Linked DNA regions of Homo sapiens: region 1 is linked to region 2. The links are contacts of gene promoters, found by promoter capture Hi-C in blood cells and fetal thymus (Javierre and others, 2016). All regions are on one chromosome and are shown on one strand. Each heading gives the region's core, a stretch centred on a gene start or on the middle of the fragment in contact. The rest is flanking DNA. Distances are from core to core; before and after follow the strand shown.

Region 1 (6,694 bases), core at 342-2,841, 100 kb after region 2:
TTTTAAAATTTGAAATAATGACAGGTGCACACATGTACACACACACACATGCACACTCAGAGGATAATCTGATAATGACAGTAATTTAAAACACTCTAGAGGTCATGATTTTAAAGTGCTTGAGCTTACTTTTATAAATATGATACATAAGGGGTCTAATTCATGGATTGGAAGAATAAATATTGTTAAAATGTTCATACTACCCAAAGCAATCTACAGAGTCAATGCAATCTCTATCAAAATATGAATGACATTCTTCACAGAAATAGAGAAAACAATTCAAAAATTTTTATTGGAACCACAAACAACCCAGAATAACCAAAGCTATCCAGAGCAAAAAGAACAAAACTGGAAGAATCACATTACCTAACTTCAAATTATACACAGAGTTATAGTAACCAAAACAGCATGATATTGGCATAAAAACAGACACATAGACCCATGAAACAGAAGTGGGCAAAGATTTCTTGAGTAATACCTGGACAAGCACAGGCAACCAAAGCAAAAATGAACAAATGGAATCACATCAAGTTAAAAAGCTTCTGCACAGCAAGGGGAACAATTAACAAAGTGAAGGGACAACCCACAATATGGGAGAAAATATTTGCAAACTACCTTTCTGACAAAGGATTAATAATCAGAATATATAAAGAGCTCAAACAACTCGATAGGAAAAAAATCTAATAATCCCATTAAAAATGGGCAAGGGATTTGAATAGACATTTCTCAGAAGACATACAAATGGCAAACGGGCATAGGAAAAAGTGCTCAGCATCATTTATCAGAGAAATGCAAATCAAAACTACAAGGACATATCACCTCACCCCAGTTAAAATGACCTTTATCCAAAAGGCAGGCAATAAGTAACAAATGCTGGTGAGGATATGGAGAAAAGGGACACCTTGTACACTGTTGCTGGGAATGTAATTTCCCACTGTGGAGAACAGTTTGGAGGTTCCTCTAAAAACTAAAAATAGAGCTATCATACAATCCAGCCATCCCACTGCTGGGTATATACCCCCAAAAAGGAAATTAGTATATCGAAGAGATATCTGCATACTTATGTTTATTGTAGCACTATTCACAATAGCCAAGATTTGGAAGGCAACCTATGTGCCCATCAACAGATGAATGGATAAAGAAAACTGTAGTACATATACACAATGAAGTACTATTCAACGATACAAAAGAATGAGATCTTGTCATTTGCAACAACATGGATAGAACTGGAGGTCATTATGTTAAGTGAAATAAGCCAGGAGCAGAAAGACAAACTTTGCATGTTCTCAGTTATTTGTTGGAGCTAAAAATTAAAAGAATTGAACTTATCGAGATACAGAGTAGAAGGATGGTTACCAGAGGCTGGGAAGGGTAGTAGGGTGAGTGACGGGGGGGAAATAGGGATGGTTCGTGGGTACAAAAAAATTGAATAAGACCTAGTATTTGCCAGCACAACAGGGTGACTATTGTAGAAAATAATCGTACATTTACAAATAACAGTATAATTCAAAGGATAAATACTTGAGGCGATGAATTCCTCATTTACCCTGATGTGATTATTATGCGTCACATGCCTGTACCAAAATATCTCATGTAACCCATAAATATATATACCTACCATGTACCTACAAAAATAAACATTAAAAAAGGGGTTCTAAGATATGTGAGTTACTACTCTTTGCAGTAAGTTCGATGATTTGAAGGGAAAGCATCTGAGCTATATCATCTCAGCCCTCTGCCAAAGTAACTTCACTGGATTATGATATGATTTACTGTCCCATGCTCTGCCTTCTGGAGGATCCATGTAGGAATGGCCTGTTGACCAGCCTGGCCAACATGGCAAAACCCCCCATCTCTACTAAAAAAATACAAAAATTAGCCTGGCATGGTGGCATGCACATGCAGTCCCAGCTACTTGGAAGGCTGAGGCAGGAGAATCGCTTAAACCTGGGAGGCAGAGGTTGCAGTGAGCCAAGATGGCGCCACTGCCCTCCAGCCTGGGCAACAGAGCAAGAGACTGTCTCAAAAAAAAAAAAGGAATGGCCTATTGAGTGTGACTGCATCTTTCCAAACTAAGCCTCCTGCTTTACCTATTTTCTCTTAAACACAGTTCCAAGACATTCTTCTCCTTGGGTTTCCCTTCAAAAGAATTTATCTCTGTATAAGAATAAACATTTGTCTTTGTTAAACGATAAAAATAGTGTCACTTAAAATACATTTCCATATTTTCCCTTGATACTGGGAATCACAGGGTCAAATTCAGTGCCAGGTGAAGGGTGGAGGGCATTCTAATTGTTCCCCTTCTCACAATGTCTCTTCTCCCTCCCTCCCCAGTCCCTTCCATAGGAAACAGGGAATGTTTGTTTCTGTCTTCTGGTAGGAGAAGGATTGGTCCCACCCCCAGCTCCAGGGATGGATCTTGATTGTTTAAGCCCAGTCAGGTAAACCCCACACCTGTTGCACAGTGATTAACCCAGTGGCAGTCATGCCAAGAGGTTTGTTCATGGCTGGGCATGTGACCTGTGCAGGCCACCAGCATGCTTGCTGAGGACTTTGGGAAGAAGGCTCTTCAGTCTTCTGATAGACCTCCCCAAGACGGCCCTCTCTCTGTGTCCTTCTGGATGTTTGGGACATGAAGCTTGGGGCTGCTGGAGTTACCTTGCTGTCACGAGGGAAGCTACCCCTAGGATGTGGTTGACGAAGTAGAAAGAAAGAAAATAGGCCCTTATTGGCCAGGCACGGTGGCTCACGCCTGTAATCCCAGCACTTTGGGAGGCCGAGGCGGGCGGATCACGAGGTCAGGAGACCGAGAGCATCCTGGCTAACATGGTGAAACCCCGTTTCTACTAAAAAATACAAAAAAAAAAAATTAGCGGGGCATGGTGGTGGGCGCCTATAGCCCCAGCTACTCGGGAGGCTGAGGCAGGAGAATGGCGTGAACCCAGGAGGCGGAGCTTGCAGTGAGCCGAGATCATGCCACTGCACTCCAGCCTGGGCGACAGAGCAAGACTCCGTCTCCCAAAAAAAAAAAAAAAAAAAAAAAAAAGAGAGAGAAAATAGGCCCTTGTTTTCATCATAGAGCAACTGACTCAAACTCAACCTGAAGCCGCTGAACTTTCCATTTGCATGTGCCAGCAAACCACCTTTATTATGTAAGCCCTTTCAAATTAGGTTTCTTACTTGCATCTTAGAATCCAAATGGTGCTTAATAGATACATTTCCTTGTATTTTGTGTGTTTTAGTGATTCTAACCCATGGACCAAGACCCTGCCTTGGAGATTGGGGAACAGGTGTTGGAAGGGCTCTATTTTGGCAAAGAATGGATTATTTATGTGAGCATATTTCCGCAAAGTAAGGAAATGTCTTGCCTATATATGTATTAATATTTTTCAAATTTATCTTGTTTTGATGAAATATAAATTTAGATAAAAATACTAAAAATACTGAATTTGTAGGTTTTTATCCTGCATTTTTCACAATGAGCAGATGTTAGAAGCATCATGTAAATTTGTCCAAAAAGATGTTGTTTTTTGCAGAAATTTTTGACTTGAGGAAGAAGCTCTTGCTTAGATAGATGTTTCCACCCTCTGTCCCTCCTTCTTTTCCTTCCTTCTTCTCTTCTCCAGCCTTCACTCCCTGCTGCCTTCCTTTTTTTCCCTCTTAGTCTCTGTTATTACCCTGTTTTCCTTCTGTTGAGTCTTGTTACTCAAACTCTGTTAGAAATAGTTGAGATATAAATTCTAATTAATTTTATTTGGATGCCTATGTTAAGCTTCATTTAACTTTTCAGATCCTGCATCTATGAGTTCGACATAAATGCAAACAAATAATGGGTATTGAGTGCTTTAATAGCAAGGGACCCAAACTGAAGTTCATTCCCCATGCAACAAATTGGGTGTTGGATGGGAATGCTTATAATGATTGACCCCGGTTTTTGGTAGTAAGCAAGCAACTGCAAGTGAACTGTAACTGATGTATTTAATGAGTGCTCACTGTGTGCACATTGCCATTAGTGTAGCTGAGTGGTGCAGCACTGAACCCTTACCTCAAAGATCTTATAGTTCATTGGAGAGAAGAGACATGTACACCAGATACTGTGTAAGCCAGGGCTGTGTTTTATAAGGGAATATGTAAGTTGACATCTGGAACCTCTTTCTTAGAATTATCCTACCAGAAGAGCCCTCTAGAACCTTGTGTTTAATAAATATTGATCACCGCCATTATAAAATATGCTGTTTGTTAATAAAACATATTTTCTTTATTTTATTTTATTTTTTTAATTATACTTTAAGTTTTAGGGTACATGTGCACAACGTGCAGGTTTGTTACATATACATGTGCCATGTTGGTGTGCTGCACCCATTAGCTCTTCATTTAACATTAAGTATATCTCCTAATGCTATCCCTCCCCACTCCTCCTACCCCACAACAGGCCCTGGTGAGTGATGTTCCCCTTCCTGTGTCTGTGTGTTCTCATTGTTCAATTCCCACCTATGAGTGAGAACATGCGGTGTTTGGTTTTTTGTCCTTGCGATAGTTTGCTGAGAATGATGGTTTCCAGCTTCATCTATGTCCTTACAAAGGACATGAACTCATCATTTTTTATGGCTGCATAGTATTCCATGGTGTATATGTGCCACATTTTCTTAATCCAGTCTATCTTTGTTGGACATTTGGGTTGGTTCCAAGTCTTTGTTATTGTGAATAGTGCCGCAATAAACATACATGTGCATGTGTCTTTATAGCAGCATGTTTTATAATCCTTTGGGTATATACCCAGTAATGGGATGGCTGGGTCAAATGGCATTTCTAGTTCTAGATCCCTGAGGAATCGCCACACTGACTTCCACAATGGTTGAACTAGTTTACAGTCCCCCCAACAGTGTAAAAGTGTTCCTATTTTTCCAGATCCTCTCTAGCACCTGTTGTTTCCTGACTTTTTAATGATTGCCATTCTAACTGGTGTGAGATGGTATCTCATTGTGGTTTTGATTTGCATTGCTCTGATAGCCAGTGATGATGAGCATTTTTTCATGTGTCTTTTGGCTGCATAAATGTCTTCTTTTGAGAAGTGTCTGTTCATATCCTTTGCCCACTTGTTGATGGGGTTGTTTTTTTCTTGTAAATTTGTTTGAGTTCTTTGTGGATTCTGGATATTAGCCCTTTGTCAGATGGGTAGATTGCAAAAATTTTCTCCCATTCTGTAGGTTGCCTGTTCACTCTGATGGTAGTTTCTTTTGCTTTGTAGAAGCTCTTCAATTAGATCCCATTTGTCAATTTTGGCTTTTGTTGCCATTGCTTTTGGTGTTTTAGACATGAAGTCCTTGCCCATGCCTATGTCCTGAATGGTATTGCCTAGGTTTTCTTCTAGGGTTTTTATGGTTTTACGTCTAACATTTAAGTCTTTAATCCATCTTGAATTAATTTTTGTATAAGGTGTAAGGAAGGGATCCAGTTTCAGCTTTCTACATATGGCTAGCCCGTTTTCCCAGCACCGTTTATTAAATAGGGAATCCTTCCCCCATTTCTTGTTTTTGTCAGGTTTGTCAAAGATCAGATGGTTGTAGATATGTGGCATTATTTCTGAGGGCTCTGTTCTGTTCCATTGGTCTACATCTCTGTTTTGGTACCAGTACCATGCTGTTTTGGTTACTGTAGCCTTGTAGTATAGTTTGAAGTCAGGTAGCATGATGCCTCCAGCTTTGTTCTTTTGGCTTAGATTGACTTGGCAATGCGGGCTCTTTTTTGGTTCCATATGACCTTTAAAGTAGTTTTTTCCAATTCTGTGAAGAAAGTCATTGGTAGCTTGATGGGGTTGGCATTGAATCTGTAAATTACCTTGGACAGTATGGCCATTATCACGATATTGATTCTTCCTACCCATGAGCATGGAATGTTCTTCCATTTGTTTGTATCCTCTTTTATTTCATTGAGCAGTGGTCTGTAGTTCTCCTTGAAGAGGTCCTTCACATCCCTTGTTAGTTGGATTCCTAGGTATTTTATTCTCTTTGAAGCAATTGTGAATGGGAGTTCACTCATGATTTGGCTCTCTGTTTGTCTGTTATTGGTGTATCGGAATGCTTGTGATTTTTGCACATTGATTTTGTATGCTGAGACTTTGCTGAAGTTGCTTATCAGCTTAAGGAGATTTTGGGCTGAGATGATGGGGTTTTCTAGATATACAATCATGTCATCTGCAAACAGGGACAATTTGACTTCCTCTTTTCCTAATTGAATACCCTTTATTTCCTTCTCCTGCCTGATTGCCCTGGCCAGAACTTCCAACACTATGTTGAATAGGAGTGGTGAGAGAGGGCATTCCTGTCTTGTGCCAGTTTTCAAAGGGAATGCTTCCAGTTTTTGCCATTCAGTATGATATTGGCTGTGGGTTTGTCATAGATAGCTCTTACTATTTTGAGATACGTCCCATCAATACCTAATTTATTGAGAGTTTTTAGCATTAAGGGCTGTTGAATTTTGTCAAAGGCCTTTTCTGCATCTATTGAGATAATCATGTGGTTTTTGTCTTTGGTTCTGTTTATATGATGGATTACATTTATTGATTTGCATATGTTGAACCAGCCTTGCATCCTAGGTATGAAGCCAACTTGGTCATGGTAGATAAGCTTTTTGATGTGCTGCTGGATTCGGTTTGCCAGTATTTTATTGAGGATTTTTGCATCGATGTTCATCA
Region 2 (6,083 bases), core at 1,021-3,520:
CCATTAGATGCCAGTAGCACTTCATCCCCCGCAGCTCCAGGTTGTGACAGCCAAATTGTCTTCAGACATTTTTAAATGTCTCCTGGGGGACAAAATTGCCCCCAGCTGAGAACCACGATCTAGTAGAAAGGGCCGAATAGCAGAGATGGCACCCGGGGTCCTACTCGGATCCAGCCCTGGAGTATTCTCAGGCAAGTAACTGGCTGGCCTCAGTTTCCCCTTCTGTGAACCAAGGCCTCAGTTTTTTAGACCCATCTCCCTCAGATCTAATGTCACGGGAGTCCAGAATTCTCTCCTCTCTCTGTTCCCCCCACTTCACCAATGGATGTCCCCCACATCTGCCTGCTCGGCATTTTGGGGGCCTTCTGTGAGCCCCCCACATCTGCCTGCTCAGCATTTTGGGGGCTTCCAGTGAGCCCCCCCACATCTGCCTGCTCAGCATTTTGGGGGCCTTCTGTGAGCCCGCCTCTGTCTTCACCTATCCCTTAGGCACCCCCTTTTCCCAGGACCCAGCTCTACCTCCTTGTTCTTTTCCAGACAGAGGAGAGCTCTGCTTGGCTCCCCTCTATCACCCTCCACCCACAAACTAACATGTCTAAAATCAGCCACTTCACTCCTCACACCTTCCCAGGAAGCCGAATACCCCTTAGGACTAGTCACTACCCCTCTCTCCCTCCCTAGCCCTCTGAATCTTCTCCCCCAATTTCCTGCTCATCCAGCCCCTCCTTTCTCCAGCTGTCCTAGGTTAAGACTTTATAACCAGATGCCCAGATCACGGGTGGCCACAGGACATTAGGAGAAAAGGCACCAGATTATCTGGGTGCTGATCCCCACTCCGCCATTTGCTAGCTGTGACCATGGGCAAGTGACTTCATCTCTCTGACCCTCAGTCTCAGCCTCCAAAATGGGAATAACATCAGGCACGTGTGAGTAACTAATGACTTTGTGTAAAGCCCTGGAATGCAATAAAAACCTGTATGTACACCTATCAGCAGCAGCATCATGACAGCCCCACTCATGCAGGCTGGTCCTGTGGGCACTGCAGGTCATACTCTGATGAACTGCCCCTGCCAGCAGTTGAGAGTTTGGACTTCTTTTATTTATTTATTTTTTTGAGATGGAGTCTTGCCCTGTCACCCAGACTGGAGTGCGGTGGCATGATTTTGGCTCACTGCAAGCTCCGCCTGCTGGGTTCAAGCAATTCTCCTGCCTCAGCCTCCCGAGTAGCTGGGACTACAGGCGTGTGCCACCACACCCGGCTAATTTTTTGTATTTTTAGTGGAGACGGGGTTTCACCGTGTTAGGATGGTCTCGATCTCCTGACCTCATGATCCACCCGCCTCAGTCTCCAAAGTGCTGGGATTACAGGCGTGAGCCACCGCGCCCAGCGGAGTTTGGACTTCTTAACTTGGCACTCAAGGCCATGCACAATGGTGGCACCACTATTTGCAAAACGAGCATGTGCACTCCACGTAGGCCTCACACCCCACCTTGGGGATGTTCACAGGCCTTCCAGGCTAGACTACAACTCTAGCACAGGGAAGCCAGAGCAAGCTGCCCTAGGACTAGGCTCTCAGCCCTCGGGGCTCCCAGGTTTGGGTGGATGAAGGGTGTGGCTCTCCACCGAGGACCAGAGGGAGCAGGAGAGTAAGCACTCCTAGTGCCCCAGTAGAGAGAAAGCGCCACCCCAGCCCCCAGCAGCTACAGCATCTGATCTGCCCAGTCTCAGGGCAAGCAGGGCAAGGGCCAGTCACTGTTTTGCAACTGAGGACACTGGGTACCAGAGAAAGTGGCTGTCCTCCTCAAGGTCACACAGTCAGGCTGGGGTAAAGCTGGGCCAGCCTCCCCTGGGAGGTTTCGACGTCTCCTCTCCAGACTCTACGTTCTGGGTGTCCAGGGGGCCTGCAGCCGCTGGGCCAGGGAAAAAGGGACAAAATGAGGCCAGTCCCTCCACCCCTGCGTCCCCATCTTACAGCTAGGGGTGGACCCAGGCCCGCGGACAGGAAGGAAGGAATGTAGGATGGCAGGACAGATGGGCAGGGCGGGAGGGGAGAGGGTCATCTCTTCTCCCCCCGAGTTGGGCCCTACCTGGGGAGCTGCCCACTGGAGCTCCTGGACTCAGAGCCGCCGCCTCTACCTACGTGCACAGGCTCCACAGGTGAGTGTCTTCGGCCCTCAGTCACTTGGCGCTTCCGGGTCCTCTAAGACAGGGTGAGAGCACGGCTCCACTCCTTCTACGATCCTAGTGCGGCCTCCACAGGCCCCAATCTGCCCAGGCTCCACTCCCTGGAAAGACCCCGCCCCTGCTCCGATCCCCGCCCAGGGCGCCCTTTGGCCTCGGAGGCGGGGGCGGGGCCAGACTTCATGCCCCGCCCACCAGACCCCGCCCCAAGTCCCTGTGCCACCGCCTGCCCCACCTCCAGAAAAGTGTGGATTTCGGAACGGGGCGGACCTAGCTCCTCCCAGATTTGCTTCCAGCTTGCTGTGTGATCTTGGGTGAATTCCTTCCTCAATTTGATCCCATTTCCTGTTTTGTCAAGGGGGAAAGCCGCCTTGCAGGATTTTAGAGATGACATGAAATGACTTTGCGCGGCTCCTGGCGCTCAAACGTCCCCTCCTGGGGGCAGCTTTTCCTGAACCCACCCGTATCTCCCAGACTGGACAGGCCCCTCGCGTCATCTGTTCGCATAGCCCACAGTTGTAATTTCATATTTGCTTGAATGACTACTTGATTAATGTATATCTCTTCATTTAAATTTGAACTCTGAGAGCAGGTCACGTACATCCTTACACTCCAGCGCTTATCAGTACCTCGCCTGACAAACAGCAGGCGCTCCATAAATGCCCGCACCTTCATTCCATCCCTGGGACGTTCTGGTCGAGCGGCAGCGGGCTCAATACTGACACTGGCCAGCAGGGGGCAGGCGGTGATCAGCCTTCTGGCCCAGCCGCGCTCCCTCCCTGTCTGCAGGCACTGCGGGAGGGGACAGGTGAGCCCAGGTGCGCCGAGGCACGCGGAAGGTGCATTTACTCTCGTGCCTTGGGCAAGGCCCGGGCCGGGAACGGCTTTTTCCTCTTGGATCTGTGGCTCGCGGCTTTCCTGGACCAAAGACCTTTCCGACGCCCTATGGCCCCTGCAAAGAAGCTGCCCTGAGAAGGGCCTGGAGATGAAGTAATTTGTTCTAAAAGAGAGAGGGCACCGAGGAAAGGCTTGGCGGAGCAGCAACGGCGACGAGCCAGGCTTAGAAACGACTGGGCGGTGAGGAGGAGAGGTAGCTGCCATTATTCTGACTCAGGGTGACAGAACCTGTTTGGAAGTGACTGGCCTCAGTTGTCCTCATTTTGGCAGAAGTCATTTAGTATCAGTCCTGATCCCAGGTAGTGTCTGGCTGCTATCTCAGAAGAGCCCTGTTGGGAGCAGAGCTATGTCAAGGTGGCCAGGAGGGCAGCGTCATACATACCATTTTCTGTAACATCAGGAAATCCCTGAAGGGAGCCCGAGAAGGAAGGAAGGAGAGGTCACAGGTTGGGGCTACAGATGCCGAAATCAATTTACCTCTTTGAGCCTCAATTTCATCGGCAAAGGTGGTGATAAAAGCTACCTTGCAGGATTCTATTGTGAGGATTTACAGGATGAATTAAATAAGTGGTTCTCAACCTTGACTGTGTGTTAGAATCACTGTGCCCTAGACGAATACTGATGCCCCGGATACTGGGAGTTTAAAAACCTCTCCAGTTGGTTGTAATGTACAAACAAGGCTGAGAACTGCTGATCCAAATTAAATGCAGAGCACAGCGCCAGGGCACACACTAGGCATTCAGGAATGTTTATCACATATTTATTTTTATTTAAAAAATTTTTGTGTCACACATTTTTAAAGATGGAGCACAAATTGTTTTCATTGTTCATTGTTAGAGGAAAAAAAGTTGATATAAAGGTTGTTGCAGAAATTGCATTTGCGGCTGGGGTGAGGTGGCTTACGCCTGCAATCCCAGCACTTTGGGAGGCAGAGGTGGGCGGATCGTCTGAGGTCAGGAGTTGGAGACCAGCCTGGCCAACACGGTGAAACCCCATCTCTGTTTTTTTGTTTTTGTTTTTGTTTTGAGATGAAGTCTCGCTCTGTCACTCAGGCTGGAGTGCAGTGGCACCATCTCTGCTCACTGCAAGCTCCACTTTCCGGGTTCACGCCATTCTCCTGCCTCAGCCTCCTGAGTAGCTGGGACTACAGGGGCCCATCCCCATGCCCAGCTAATTTTTTGTATTTTTAGTAGAGACAGGGTTTCACTGTGTTAGCCAGGATGGTCTCGATCTCCTGACCTCGTGATCCACCCACCTCAGCCTCCCAAAGTGTTGGGATTACAGGCGTTAGCCACTGCGCTCGGTCCCCCGTCTCTATTAAAAATACAAAAAAAAAAAAAATTAGCCAGGCATGGTGGTGCACAGCTGTAGTCTCAGCTACTCAGGAGGCTGAGGCAGGAGAATCACTTGAACCGAGGAGGTGGAGGTTGCAGTGAGCTGAGATGGCGCCTCTGTACTCCACCCTGGGTGACAGAGCAAGACATTGTCTCAAAAAAAAAAAAAAAGAAAAAGAAAAATTGCATTTCTGACAGGCTCGTTTCTGGAACTCTCAATCATCTGGGATTTGGTGATGAGGGTAGGAGAAGAAAGGCAGATAGAACAGCCTCTGCTAGTATGACTTGTTCTAACACTGAATGGAACTGAATAAGGCAGAGACTGTCCCACTCTAGCTTGTGGTTGACATCACCATCTCCAGGGCTTTCTCTGAGGGTGCAAGCAGCATGGACACTTGTGTTTGCCCATTTCTGGGGTTGAAGGTGGAGGCCATTTTTTCCTCTGCTTGGGTATACTCATCGGATGAGCCTATATCACTGGCAGCTGTTTGTTTCTTCATTAATCCAAGAATGCAGGTGGTACTTCCTTCTTTACAGAATTTGGTAGCTTATGTGTTTTATTGTTTTTTTGTTTTGTTTTAGACAGGGTCTGGCTCTGTCACCCAGGATGGAGTGCAGTGGCACAATCACAGCTCACTGCACCCTTGACCTCCTGGGCTCAAGCAATTCTCCTACTTCAGCCTCTCGAGGAGCTGGGACCACAGGCATGCATGATCACACCTGGCTTTTTTTTTTTTTTTTTTTTTTTTTTAGAGACAGAGTCTCGCTCTGTTGCCCAGGCTGGAGTGTAGTGGCACAATCTCGGCTTATTGCAACCTCCGCCTCCCAGGTTCAAGCGATTATTTGCTTCAGCCTCATGAGTAGCTGGGATTACAGGTGCCTGCCACCATGCCTGGCTAATTTTTGTATTTTTAGGAGAGATAGAGTTTTGCCATCTTAGCCAGGCTGGTCTTGAACTCTTGACCTCATGATCCACCCGCCTGGGCCTCCCAAAGTGCTGGTATTACAGGCGTGAGCCACGGTGCCCAGCCACATCTAGCTAATTTTTAAAAATTTTTTGTAGGGATGGGTGTCTCACTATGTCACCCAGGCTGGTCCCGAACTCCTGGGCTCAAGCAATCCTCTTGTCTCTGCCTCTCAAAGTCCTGGGATGAGTCATTCCATTCACCCTATGTGCTTTGTTAATTTACAGACCCAGTGGTTAGTGACTGTGCCCCTCTACTTTCTTGCTGGGTGAACCTGGCATGAGGTGAGAGGGCCCCCTTACCCAGGCCTGTAGTTGTGATCACTCAGAGCAGCAATACTGGCTTCTGGGAGCAGCTCATCAATCACTCCTGGTGGCTTTGTTGAAGGTGGGAAGGGAGGCAGTGGACCCTGGGGCTGGGTCTCCCACTGCATGCAGGACTAAGGGCTGGGGGGCAGGCAACTGGTGTCTAGTTGGGATTGCCAGATTCAGCAAATAAAAATAAAGGACACTCATGTAAATCTGAATTTCAGATGCACAGCAACTGCTTTTTAATATAAGTATACCCAAGCAATATTTGGGACATACTTATACTAAAAGAAAGTATTCATTATTCATCTGAGATTCAAATTTAACTGGACATACTTTATCTTCTTTGCTAAATCTGGCAACCCTATGTCTAGCCAAACAGCCAAGTCTCCAGCAC

The links. The method cuts DNA at HindIII sites, captures the fragments that hold promoters and counts their contacts. A CHiCAGO score of 5 or more calls a contact.
Region 1: a fragment that was not itself captured here is called in contact with the fragment with the promoter of LPIN3 in region 2 in 5 of 17 cell types (non-activated CD4 T cells, naive CD4 T cells, endothelial precursors and 2 more); the score reaches 6.0 in non-activated CD4 T cells.

The regions. Positions count from the first base shown.
Region 1 is chr20:41,235,345-41,242,038 of GRCh38, reverse strand. The region is part of intron 2 of ZHX3 (zinc fingers and homeoboxes 3); the gene reads left to right. Among named protein-coding and RNA genes, the nearest start is that of MIR6871, 70 kb to the right of the region's middle. The HindIII fragment of the contact is 2,099 bases long and covers 542-2,640 here.
Region 2 is chr20:41,337,008-41,343,090 of GRCh38, reverse strand. LPIN3 (lipin 3) reads right to left here and starts at 2,270. Exons shown (of 20, transcript NM_022896.3): 1 at 2,089-2,270. RefSeq lists a silencer at 2,289-2,448 and an enhancer at 2,609-2,658. The HindIII fragment of the contact is 12,951 bases long and covers 1-6,083 here.